Regions from separate parts of the Homo sapiens genome. Here region 1 is linked to region 2. Evidence: promoter capture Hi-C in 16 types of primary human blood cells and fetal thymus (Javierre and others, 2016). All regions are on one chromosome and are shown on one strand. The core of a region is centred on a gene start or on the middle of the fragment in contact, and the rest is flanking DNA. Distances in the headings are between cores, read along the strand shown. Region 1 holds the start of ABHD17B (abhydrolase domain containing 17B, depalmitoylase). Region 2 has its middle 23 kb from the start of ANXA1.

Region 1 (5,605 bases), core at 1,161-3,660, 1.2 Mb after region 2:
TTACCTATTGATAATGGGAGCAAACTTGGGAAAGTCTTCCCAAATGTTGCTTCAGGTTTTCATTCTGAAAAACCTCTCAACCTAAGTGGGGGAAAGGAGAGCACTTAATTTAAAATATTCTTCCTTATTCTCCCTTACTGAGCTGTGTTGCCCTTCACCAATATTTATCATAATTTGTATTTACTTATCTTTCTGCTTTCTTTTTGCCCATATCACCTAGAAACTATAAACTCCGTGAAGGGAGAGTCAGCTCTTTTGAACACGGTATACCTATGAACACAGGGCCTTGCACACGGAAGGTGCTTATTAAATATTTGTAGAATAAGCAAAGAAAGAAAGAGGAAAGGAAAAGGAGATCACAGGTTACCAAAAACAGATGACTTTGCTTTCCCAATCAATGTCGGGAAATTAATCACTTATTGAACACTTACTATGACCTAGGCCATTTATGCATAATCATATAGTTTCGCCTCCCAACAATCCTGACAAATTTGCATTTGAGACCAAAGTAAGGCTCAGAGAAATTAAATATTATACAACTCACTCAAGCCGCACACCTAGTAAATTTGAGCTCCATAACTTTTGTGAATATTAGGTTTATCTGAGTGATGCTGGCCCCTAATATGCCCCTGTTGTCAATGATTTTCTCTCCATACAGCTATGGAGACAGGGAGAGAGATTCACAGCAAAGAGCAAATTAGTAGTTTTTTGTTTTTGTTTTTTGAGACGGAGTCTTGCTCTGTCGCCCAGGAGTGCAGTGATGTGATCTCAGCTCACTGCAACCACCGCCTCCAGGGTTCAAGCGATTCCCCTGCCTCAGCCTCCCGAGTAGCTGGGATTACCGGCACCCGTCACCACGTCGGCTAATTTTTGTATTTTTAGCAGATTGGGAGTTTCGCCATGTTGGCCAGGTCGTTCTCGAACTTCTGACCTCAGGTGATCCGCCCACCACCTCGGCCTCCCAAAGTGCTGAGATTACAAGCGCCCGCCACCACGCCCGGCTAATTTTTGTATTTTTAGTACAGATGGAGTTTCGCCATGTTGACCAGGTCGTTCTCGAACTCCTGACCTCAGGTGATCCACCCGCTTCGGCCTCCCAAAGTGCTGGGATTACAGCACTTTGAGCCACGGCGCCCGGCCTGCAAATTAGTACTTATATACAACCCAAGTCCTCTGGCTATCTAGACAGTCTGAATTTTTTAGCAGGACTTTACAGAAGTCCTGCTAAAGATAAACAGCAAAACAAGTATTTTTACATTAACCAAATATTTTTATCTTCAAAACAATTGTTACAAAACAGAAATTTCACACAATACTAGTGAGGACAGCCTAAGACAGCTTAATCATTCACATTTCCTCTATGGGCTTGGGGTTTTTGGAAAAAAAAATCGTAGCTGCATAAACTTGGTGTAAAATTTGAAAAAGCCACTCATGCCACAATCCTCGTTTCCCTCTGCTAATGTGATCCAGATGGGAACGCTGAACGACGTAACTGCCCCATCTGCACCTTAGATTTCATTAGGGTCCTGTTCACTCTGTGCAATTAGTTAAGTGTGCTGACCATCAAATATTTACCAGGAGACAACATGTCCAGGTCAAAGAAAGGGCGTGAGAATAACATTTTAGAAAGAGTTGCACTGCAGCCAAGACTAACTCTGGGCTGCGGTCCACACTCGCCCCAGCCGACTCCTCTCATTTCCTCTCTCCCCTCTCCAGTGAGCCATTCCTTCCTGGAGTCAAAGACGGTGCAACAGGCAGGTTCCTACCTTGGTCTGCACACTTTTATCGAACTTGTCATTTTTGAAGCTAAACGTATTCTGGTGCTTCTGAGGTCTGGAACGAGCCACGTTGCCTTTCTGGGAGCTCATCGCCGAAATCAAAGCCACCCCTCGCCGGGAGCAGGCAAAAGGATGAGGGGAAAGAAAACCAACGAACTACTCCCAGGAATTGACGCTTCTGTCAATGACCCGGAAGAAACAAACGCAGCCTTTCCGCCCCGGCTCTGGGTCAGCCCACGTGACTCTTCTGGGAGGTCAAAGAGCATCGCTCTGCCCTCCCTGCTGTTAAGCCAAGCCACTCCACGCGGCGCAGCCTCGACCCCTCCGGCTCCGCGCAGCCTCTTTCTCAAACCCGGAGAACAAGTCCCACTTTCTTCGAAATGAGAATTCCCCCATTGGCCCGAATGTGTAGTCCATCAAATCAAAGGGGCGGGGAACCTTTGTTCCTATTGGTTCTTCTTTTCCGCAATCCCCGCCTCCTGCTGAGCGAGCTCAGCCTCTCCTTGAGCTCAGAGCGCCTCCCACCCTGCCGGGCGGCCTCTGATTGGTGGAAGTGAGGCAAGGCTGGGCTCCGTCTCTCCCCCCGCCCGCTAGTAGGCTGGAGCCGGGGTCAGCTTTGGCACCTTCCTCCAGTCAGTGGCCAACTCCTGGCTCAGTGGGGATTGTGCTCGTCCCCTCCGTTCCCCTCCAGTCTTCCTCCCGCTACCGGAACGAGCCTCGCGCTTGGCAGGCTGAGGAGGAGCAAAGAAAGCAGGATTAAAGAGAAGGAAGACCTGGCTAGGTCTGGGTGGCGTCTGCAGTGCCAGAAAGGGAGGCGGTGGCGGCGGCGGCTGCGACCACGGCCGCGCGGGACGTGAGGCCCGAGAGCAACCGACGGGCAGCGGCGGCCGCTCCAGCGCCCCGCACCGGGGCCGTTAGTCAGCAGAACGCGAGCTCTTGTGGAGGAGCAGGGCCGGCGCGAGGCGAGACTCGGGAGCGTGAGCGGGGCCCCTGGGGCGCCGCCGTCCTTCTTCGCCCCGGCGCCGGGGGCTGTAGCCCTGGTCCCCGCTCCTCTGTCGGGCCAGTCTGCAGGCGGAGAGAGTCGGACGGCGCCCGGAGCGCGGATCTCGCCTTGTGGAGGACAGCGCGTCGGCTGCGGTTCTCTCTCGACCCCTTCTGCCCGGCGCTTCGGCCCGGGCCGCTCAGGTGCAGGTGCGTGCGGCCTCGGGGTTTGGGGACGCCGCAGCCCGGCTCGGGGAGGGGGCGCTAGGCCGGGAGCCGCAGCGCGGGAGGGACGAGCCCGGGCCGGCGGGGGGAGGGGAGCGGGAAGCGTCTTTGTTGTTGGCGACCGGGATCCCTTCTCGGCACAGGGGAAAGGCGGGGAAGCCACTCCTCATCGGGTCTGTGTTTTTGAGAGGATTCTCTGATGGTTGCGTGAAGGGGAGCGGTAGGACAGTCCCTGCGGTCCGTGGAGCGGCCGGAGTCAGGGGGTGGGGGAGGGAGGACCGACCGACACTCTAAGAAGGTCTTTGGTCCTCCTCGGTGAAGAGAAGGGTTCCATTTCATTTCCTTTGCTTTTCTCTCAGTGGATGAAAAGATGGGGTCAGGTTCCCATTCCCCTCACTGGCGCACTGAGAGATTCGCGGGTGCCTAAAAGCTTTCTCCTGAATGTCCTTATATCTCTGTCGGGCGCGATTTTAGATTGAATCTGCACGGGGCTTGGCGATTTGTGTATTCCGGTGGGGCTGTCGTAGGGTTCTTTTTCTTTAGATGGTTGGGCTTTAATCTTATTTGTTTTCGAACTCTAAGGTAGGCTTATCAGGAATCGTTTTTGAATTGGAAAATTTAAAGGTTTTGTTTGGGATTTTTTTTAACCCCGAAACAAAGTTATGTCAAATTAGATTGTACTGTGTGGGGGCTCTCGTGAAGGAAAGAGTGTATTTAACCTGGGGTTTTTGTTTAAAAAAAAAAAAAGTTCAGATCTTTGATCTTTGGTGAGATCTCTGCCAATGCCAGAAGAGAATTTTTTGTAAATGATGCTTTAAGTCAGTGTGAAGTAGATTTGGTAAGCAAAAGGATGAATAACGGAATACAGAGGGTGACCTTTAAATTTCGCTGTTTATGAAATGTGTTCCTGTTTAATACTTTTTGTGATATATGATGCTTGATCTATAGATGATTCATTTGGAATTTTTTTATGCCTCTAATAAATCTTTGGAGATCTTGTGCCAACATATGAAACTATAATACCTAATGAGTCGGAGTAGAAAGCCAGATACATGTTGTAATAACGTTAATCTGTTTAGATTAACAGGGAAATTTACATTAAAATGAACTTTTTTCCGTAAAGAGTTTCTCTACATATGTTTATAGCATGAATTTCAGTTGGGTGACATCTAATGATAGCCAGTATTTTGAAAATTGTCATGATTGCTAGTATTCTAATTTGAGACTGCTCAACTTGTTGGTAAGTTTTTATTTGGAGAATAGGGGTCGTGTTACTTAAGGAACAGCAGAGGTAAAAATCTCTGTTGTGCAGTAATTGTCATATCATTTGAAATCCAGAAGGAAATGAATGGCACCTTCACCTATATTTTGACCTCTCTTTTCTCCTACTCTAGTGTTAATAAGGTTAATTGGCAAGGACAGGATTAGATTTTTAGCAGGCTAGGCAGTTTTAATTTTGTCCCTTAGTGTGCAGTATTCTAGTTGATGAGTAGCTTGTTTCCTTGAGTATCTTTGCCCATTTTGAAATGTTTATGAAATGACTGCTGACAAAGAATTTTCTGTTTCCTGGGACAAACAAAATCACCAAAAAACATCATGAAAAAATAATGTTTTTAGTAGCTTAATGAACACAGAAGAATTAAGCAATTAGTGTCTGTTCCAAGTTTGACACTGAATTGGTCTACAACTCCAGGCACGCTATCCCACATCTGAGTCAGTTTTCTCCATCTGTAATATAGGGCTGATAAAATGTGCCACCTGCTCACTTTATAAAAAGGGGAGTGAGAACCATGTAAGCAACAGTTACTCTGGTTATGTGACATTGATATAAGTTAAATGAGAATACTTTTTAATGCAGTGCTCTTACTTTGTTTTGATATTATGAATTTCAATCATTTGATGAACAGTTAGCATAAAGATAAGGAGAATGACTCTCCCTATGCCATCATTTAAGAATTAAAATTTCTTCCGTATTAAGATTGGTGTTAAGATCTTTAGAAGCAGTGATGACAAGAAAATAGAGTATATTTTATTGGTTGGTTTATTTACTGGTAGATTTTACTTCTGATTTATCCAAAGTTTTGCTCTTAATTCTGAAAATTCCCCCTACCCTTCCTACTCTTTAAAATTTCTCACATACATTGCCCCATTTGCCTGTCGAATCCAGCCTTGTGAGTTGGAGAGAGGGAAGGTGAGTTTGTGGCCTTTTTTTTTTTTTTTTTTTTTGAGACGGAGTTTTGCTCTTGTTGCCCAGGCTGGCGTGCAATGGCGCGATCTCGGCTCACTGCAACCTCTGCTTCCCGGGTTCAAGTGATTCTTCTGCCTCAGCCTCCTGAGTAGCTGGGATTACGGGCACCCGCCACCACTCCCGGCTAATTTTTTGTATTTTTAGTAGAGATGGGGTTTCACCACGTTGGCCATGCTGGTCTTCAACTCCTGACCTCAGGTGATCCACCCGCCTTGGCCTCCCAAAGTGCTAGGATTACAGGTGTGAGCCACTTCACTGTTTGTGGAATTTTTACAGATGAAATAAATAAAGCCCAGATAAGTTAATTATTTCAATTGCCTAAAGCTAAGCAATTAGTAAGAAGTAGAATTGAGGCTTGAACTTGGGTCTTCTC
Region 2 (6,007 bases), core at 589-3,088:
TTATTGTTCAAGTATTCAAAGTCAGCACTACAGAACAGTTAAGTGAGTGTTCTTACACCGAAGTCCTCAGAGCCACTTGGCAAATGCTAGAGAAAACAGGAAGTAAGGACCTCTGTCAAGCAGAAGAATGTCTGATTTTAATCAGGAAATTGAGGATAAGTTTATTTTTGAAGGGATGATATCATCCGGTGAATGGCCTCTTTTGTTTGTAGTATATGCTGGAATGTCACCACCTTGGGAAAAAGTATTCAAAAATTCATAGCCTTTTTTTTTTACTAACACCATATTCACTTTGATTCTTTCTTTTAAATTTTATTTCTTGTGAGATTTATCAACTATGTGTGATTGCATATGCATATTTGTATGTGCAGATATAGACATATAGATATGTCTTTCAATTTTCTCTGTTCTCTTCCGTCTATTTTTTGATCTTTCTCGTTCCCGGTACCACAGTATCTTAATTTCTAAAGTTTTGTAATGAATTTTGATGTCTGAAAGGGCAATCCCAACATCCTTTTCTTCATGTCGCCAAGAAGCTAACAATTTTCCATTAGGAAACAGCCAGCCACATTTCCCAGTTTTGGCATGGTAACATACTGAAGACTCCTGTGATAGTAATTGTAGCTTTTTAGTCATTACAAAGTAAAAGATGACAGAGTTAAGAAAGGACTTAAACTGCAAGACCATTCATTAGTTCTACAATGGGTATCAATTTTCATTTGACTCATCTGATGTTGACTACTTAGAATTCCAGCTTTTAAACAAAAGCTAAGTTTAATCTGTCTATCTACCCAAGTTAATCATTCTGTATTAAGTATTCCTGTCTATTTTAGTTTATCTCAAGGATTTCAAATAATTCAACCAATTAACAATCTAGGATAAAGGGATAACTATAATAATATTTGCATTTTGAGAATCAATAATAATTGATTCTCGAAGGTCTACTTCAAGTTTAATAAATGGAATAAATTAAATATATCAAATGGACAATTCCAAAAAACTTTTATTTACATAAAAATTTTAACAACCATTCAAAACTGAATATAGTAAATGTTAAATGAACAAGATAGCTGTTTGGAGAACGTGATTTCTACTAAGAGATAGAGGTCATCGAGAAAGGTTACTGTAAGCCTTAAAACATGAAATAGCACTCACATAGAGAAGGTGCCAAAGGGTATTCCAGAGACGAGAAGCATCATTACCCAAGATAAAGAGACTAGAATATGCATAGTGGACTCCCTGGTTGTAATTCAAATTATAAGTGGATTATTTTTAAAATGTATACAACTGTATGCACAGAAATCTCTGCTGTGTATGCTTGTGGCATTGCAGCTTCCTTCTGTGGGTCTGAGAATTGGTGCAGGTTTTTAAACTGGGTCAAGAAGTAATATTCCGTGGGCATTGATGACATGAGGCTTCCAATTGCTCATCCAGTTTTAATCATCCTTGATTATGTATAGCCAACCACGCTCTTGTTGTCTATCCATCTATTTTTTCTCGATAAACACCTTGGGATATCAGCCATCACCATAGATCTCTAGTGGTTGACTATATTGCACTTGACCCCTGATATTCTGGAATATAATCATTTCCATTGACACTAGGGAGCCCAGTTCTCTAACAGTATTGCCTACTGTCAACTTCGGTCCAGCTATCACTAAGCTTCTCAAATATGCCAATCCCTCCATCAATAGCACATTCCTTATCAGCTTTGTGATGAGAATGTTCTCTGGCCCTTCAATGAACATAATCAGCTGGTAGTCTCTCTGGTGTTACACAATAGAATCATTCTAGCATGCTCACTTCTCTGAGCCTTTTGAGCCCTTCCTCAAAACTCTGCTAAAGCAGTTCTGTCATCTCTGCTTAATTTAATGTGAGCCTTTTTCTTCCCCCTACAGAACTTTTAGTAACCATCCAAGCAGCGTATTAGAACCATTCCCAGGTGCTCTTGTTAGGGAGTTTTCAGTCATGGAAGAATGTTCCCTTGTTGACAAATGTTCCTTTATCAAGCTTCTCTCTCACTATCCCCAGCTCTCACCCCAATCCAGCGCTATCAAGATATACTTCCTGGCATGCTGTCCTGATTCCTTTTGCTGCAAATTAATCACGTCTTGATGTTCTTTTGGAGAGTAATTTTTTCCCTTCCCTGGTTGGCCCATGCTGAGACTTAGATACAGAACTAGAAGACAGGAGAGAAAGTGAAGTCAGATCTTGATAAGGACAAATATCATCGTCAAAGGCATCCATCTCGGTTGAGGTTTTGGTGTGGCCTTCAAGCAAGAGAAAGCTGCTATGTTCCAGCAAAACTAAATAAGCCACTCTTATATGCCCAGGGGTTCAAAGGAATCTGCGAGTTCTATAATTTTGAGCACATCCACCTACAATTCTCTGCACCATCTCTATCAGGGTTCTGACTTAGCATAAAACCTTGCCAAGGCTATTAACTCATCTTTTGTTGTATTTCTACTACTTTTATAGTAAAGTTTATCATCCAGTCTTCCTTTCAATCTGTCTTCTAGCTATAGAAAGCATGGGTTTCTTTAAATGCTGCCCTGGAGTCCTCCAATCTTTCATACCATGCCCCTGGTTAGTAACGGACAAACCTGAGCTTGTCAATTTTCTTCTTCGGCACAATGACACTTAGCAACAACCAACCAATTTCCAAATCTTATAATTAATAAATCCCCCCATAGCTCTGAAATGCATGTGTAGTCTCCTTTCATCTGTATCCCATGCCAACTCACCACTGGCAAAAGTTATGCAATGACAGTGCTAGAGTTTTCAGTTTTTAACAGTTTAATCTCCAACAGTGTGATCCAGTTGTTATCCAGATGGCAAGTGATCTAACTCAGAATCCCTTCCTAAGTGTATGCTTCCTAGGACCACTTCTGAAATAACCTATTTTCAAGTTGCGTTTCTTCATTAGTTTCCTAGGGTTGCTATAAGAAAGTACCACAAACTTGCTGGCATATAACAACAGAAATTTAGTCTCTCACACTTCTGGAGGATAGAAGTTCCAAATTAAGGTCTCGGTAGGGTTGATTTCCTCTGGGTGCTCCAAACGAAATTATGTCCTGTGCTTCTCTCCTGCCTTCTGGTGGTTTGCTGGCAATCTTTGCCATTGCTTGGCTTATAGATGCACCATTCCAATATTTACATCTGGTTTCACATGGCACTCTCCTTTTTGTGTCCTTGTGGTCAGATAACATTCTCCCTGAGTGTCTCTATCTCTGTGTCCAAGTTTCCCTCTTCTTATAATGGCACCATTCATATTGGATTTAGGGCCCACTCTAACATAGTGTCATTATCTCACCCTACCTTAATTACATCTACAATGATTGCATTTCCAAATAAGGTCATATTTACAGGTTAGGACCTTAAGATATATTTTTAAAGGACACAATTCAACCCATAACAGCATTCGAAAGACAAATCTTATGATGAAAATTTGTGTGTAACTTATGTATTAGAGTATATTCCCAAGAAATTACAGAGAAATGGGAATAATAACAGAAGAAGACCAATAAAGGATGCATTATCAAGCAATTTCCAATGAAGTACATCTTTTGTTCAAGCCTGCCATGCATTTCTGGGCACAGTATAGATCTCAACTCTGAATTGGTCAATAGAGGTAAAGTCTTACCTGTGCACCTACCAGTCATTGATTTAGAGCTATGACTGAGGGAATGTAAATTTCCAGGCATATTTAGTTCCCTTTTGTGCAGATAAAGTGGTTGTGACAGCCTGAATTGCAGGTCCCTCACCCAGATTCATAAGTTAAGGTCCTAACCCACAGTACATCAGAATGTGACTTGTTTTGGAGATAGGGCCTTTAAAGAGAAATGGCCTCTCTCCTTGCCATACCACGTGAGAGAGTTTTCTCAGAAAAACCAAACCTGCTGATGCTTTAATCTTACATTTCTGGCTTCTGGACCTTGAGAAAATAAATGTTTATTGTTTAAGACACCCAGTCTTAAAGACACCCCTAGCAAACTAATACAGCAGCCACTGATAATCACAGGGTGCTGTCTCATGGGACTGAGAGCACACTGAGGCAGCTATGAATGTAGTGAAAGAGCCATCAGAGGGAAGAGCACCCATGGTGTCTTCTCTGGCCCTAAGCCTTCATTGCCAGGAAACCATTTGCAGAACACCTGATTTCTGTCCTCACAATTTTAGCTTTTGCTCCATTAGACATCCTGTTTTTTCCAGAAAAGGAACCTGAAATTGCCACTCATACTTGGTCAATGTAGGCTGCTCTAAAAAGTTTACCCAGGATAGCTTTTATATAATAGAGTATCAACTATGGACCCGGGAAGATCATTTGGATACATCTTGACGTTTCTCCACCTGCTGATAAAAGTGAATGAGTAAATACAGCAGCTGTAGTAGGATGAGGGCAGGGTACCAAGAGCACAGTTCCTTCAAGGCTGAGGAAATGTGTCCCCCACAGAATGATCAATTTAGACCACCAGGTACAACATTAACCGAGGATAAGGAAAGTCTAGGATACTGGAAGAATAAAAAGAACACTTAGTTGATTGATTACTATTAAAGCCTCTGCTTAGTTTAATATATATTAAATTCTGTTTTCTTAACTGCACACACAGGGATTTCCATCACAGTCCTAAAAAACAAAATGCATAGCCAACTTTGAGAATTGTTGTCTATATGTAAGAAAAAAATGCAGTAAACAATCACACAAGTGGCAGAACCTCTTTGCTTCCATAAAGGACTAATAATAAGACCCATATTTTAGTCTACTTTGTTAAATCTGATTGTACATAATTTTATATTTCCAAATCTAATTAATATAATGACTCATTGAATGACATTCTACCATATAGTAAAATGTTAAAGTTGATCTTACTTTTTTCGCTCCTCATCTCTATTGTTTGTATGATTTTTTTTTTTTTTTTTTTGAGACGGCATCTTGCTCCGTCACACATGCTGGAGTGCAGAGGCACGACCTTGGCTCACTGCAACCTCCGCCTGCTGGGTTCAAGCAATTCTCCTGCCTCAGCCTCCCGAGTAGCTGGGATTACAGGTGCATGCCACCACGCCTGGCTAATTTTTGTATTTTTAGTACAGACTGGGTTTCATCATGTTGGCCAGGCTGGTCTCGAACTCCTGACCTCGTGATCCACCTGCCTTGACCTCCCAAAGTGCTGGGATTACAGGCGTGAGCCACTGTATCCGGCCTGTTTGTATGGTTGTTATCTTTACCTGGGATTATAATTTTACATATTCATTGCCTGCAAAAGATATTTACTATGAATCTTTAACTCCAAAATTAATATACCTAACATCTTTCTTATTATCTAAAAAAATTACAAGAATGATGATCCAGCTTTCAAACTTTTAAGAACAAAACATAGAGATGCAGTTCTTAATAGAAAGAGATACAAAATGGTAAATGTGGTATAGTATTTTTTATTCAAATTAGGAATATTTTATATAAATATATACAAAAATTAGGTGATTATATTTTTATTCTGTCAAATATAAGAATTGATGTGAAATCATTTAGTACTATTTTTAATAATAGAAATTGAAAATGTTGCATGTTACTTTATAAGTGACATGAGAAATTAATGTAAAAGGGGCTTTGGGTTATCTTCAAGAATGAATTTATGTGGGGACATTGTTTATACCCATACAATAGAAAATATCCCAAACACAATTCAACTTTTAATAGAATAATCTTCAACACCTTTCCGGAGCTAAAATAAACTTTTAAATAAATATTGCATGGACATTATATTTTGTATGGGAAACTATTTTTATGTTAGTTTCACAAATGCTTTATTCACAACCAGTGTGAATTAACTTTTAAATCTACAAATTAAAACATCAAAATCTCATGTTATAATACAATAAAGAGACAATTTTATTCCCAGGAAACAAAACTGAGTTAGTATTTAAATCCTAGAAACTAAATATAGACAAAAATATTAACTTTCCAATTCAGCCAATCTCCAATTAACACATATAGGAAAAAGAGTGG

What was found. Contacts are between HindIII fragments. The CHiCAGO score rates a contact against its expected background, and 5 or more counts as called.
Region 1: a contact is called between the fragment with the promoter of ABHD17B here and a fragment that was not itself captured in region 2, in 1 of 17 cell types (fetal thymus). The highest score is 5.5, in fetal thymus.

The regions. Positions count from the first base shown.
Region 1 is chr9:71,907,998-71,913,602 of GRCh38, reverse strand. ABHD17B (abhydrolase domain containing 17B, depalmitoylase) reads left to right here and starts at 2,410. Exons shown (of 4, transcript NM_001025780.3): 1 at 2,410-2,969. C9orf85 (chromosome 9 open reading frame 85) reads right to left here and starts at 1,964. Exons shown (of 4, transcript NM_182505.5): 1 at 1,767-1,964. The coding sequence starts at 1,868. RefSeq lists enhancers at 1,697-1,756, 1,767-1,816, 1,887-2,196 and a silencer at 2,647-2,886. The HindIII fragment of the contact is 4,051 bases long and covers 1-3,416 here.
Region 2 is chr9:73,126,266-73,132,272 of GRCh38, reverse strand. No RefSeq gene overlaps it. Among named protein-coding and RNA genes, the nearest start is that of ANXA1, 23 kb to the left of the region's middle. The HindIII fragment of the contact is 348 bases long and covers 1,665-2,012 here.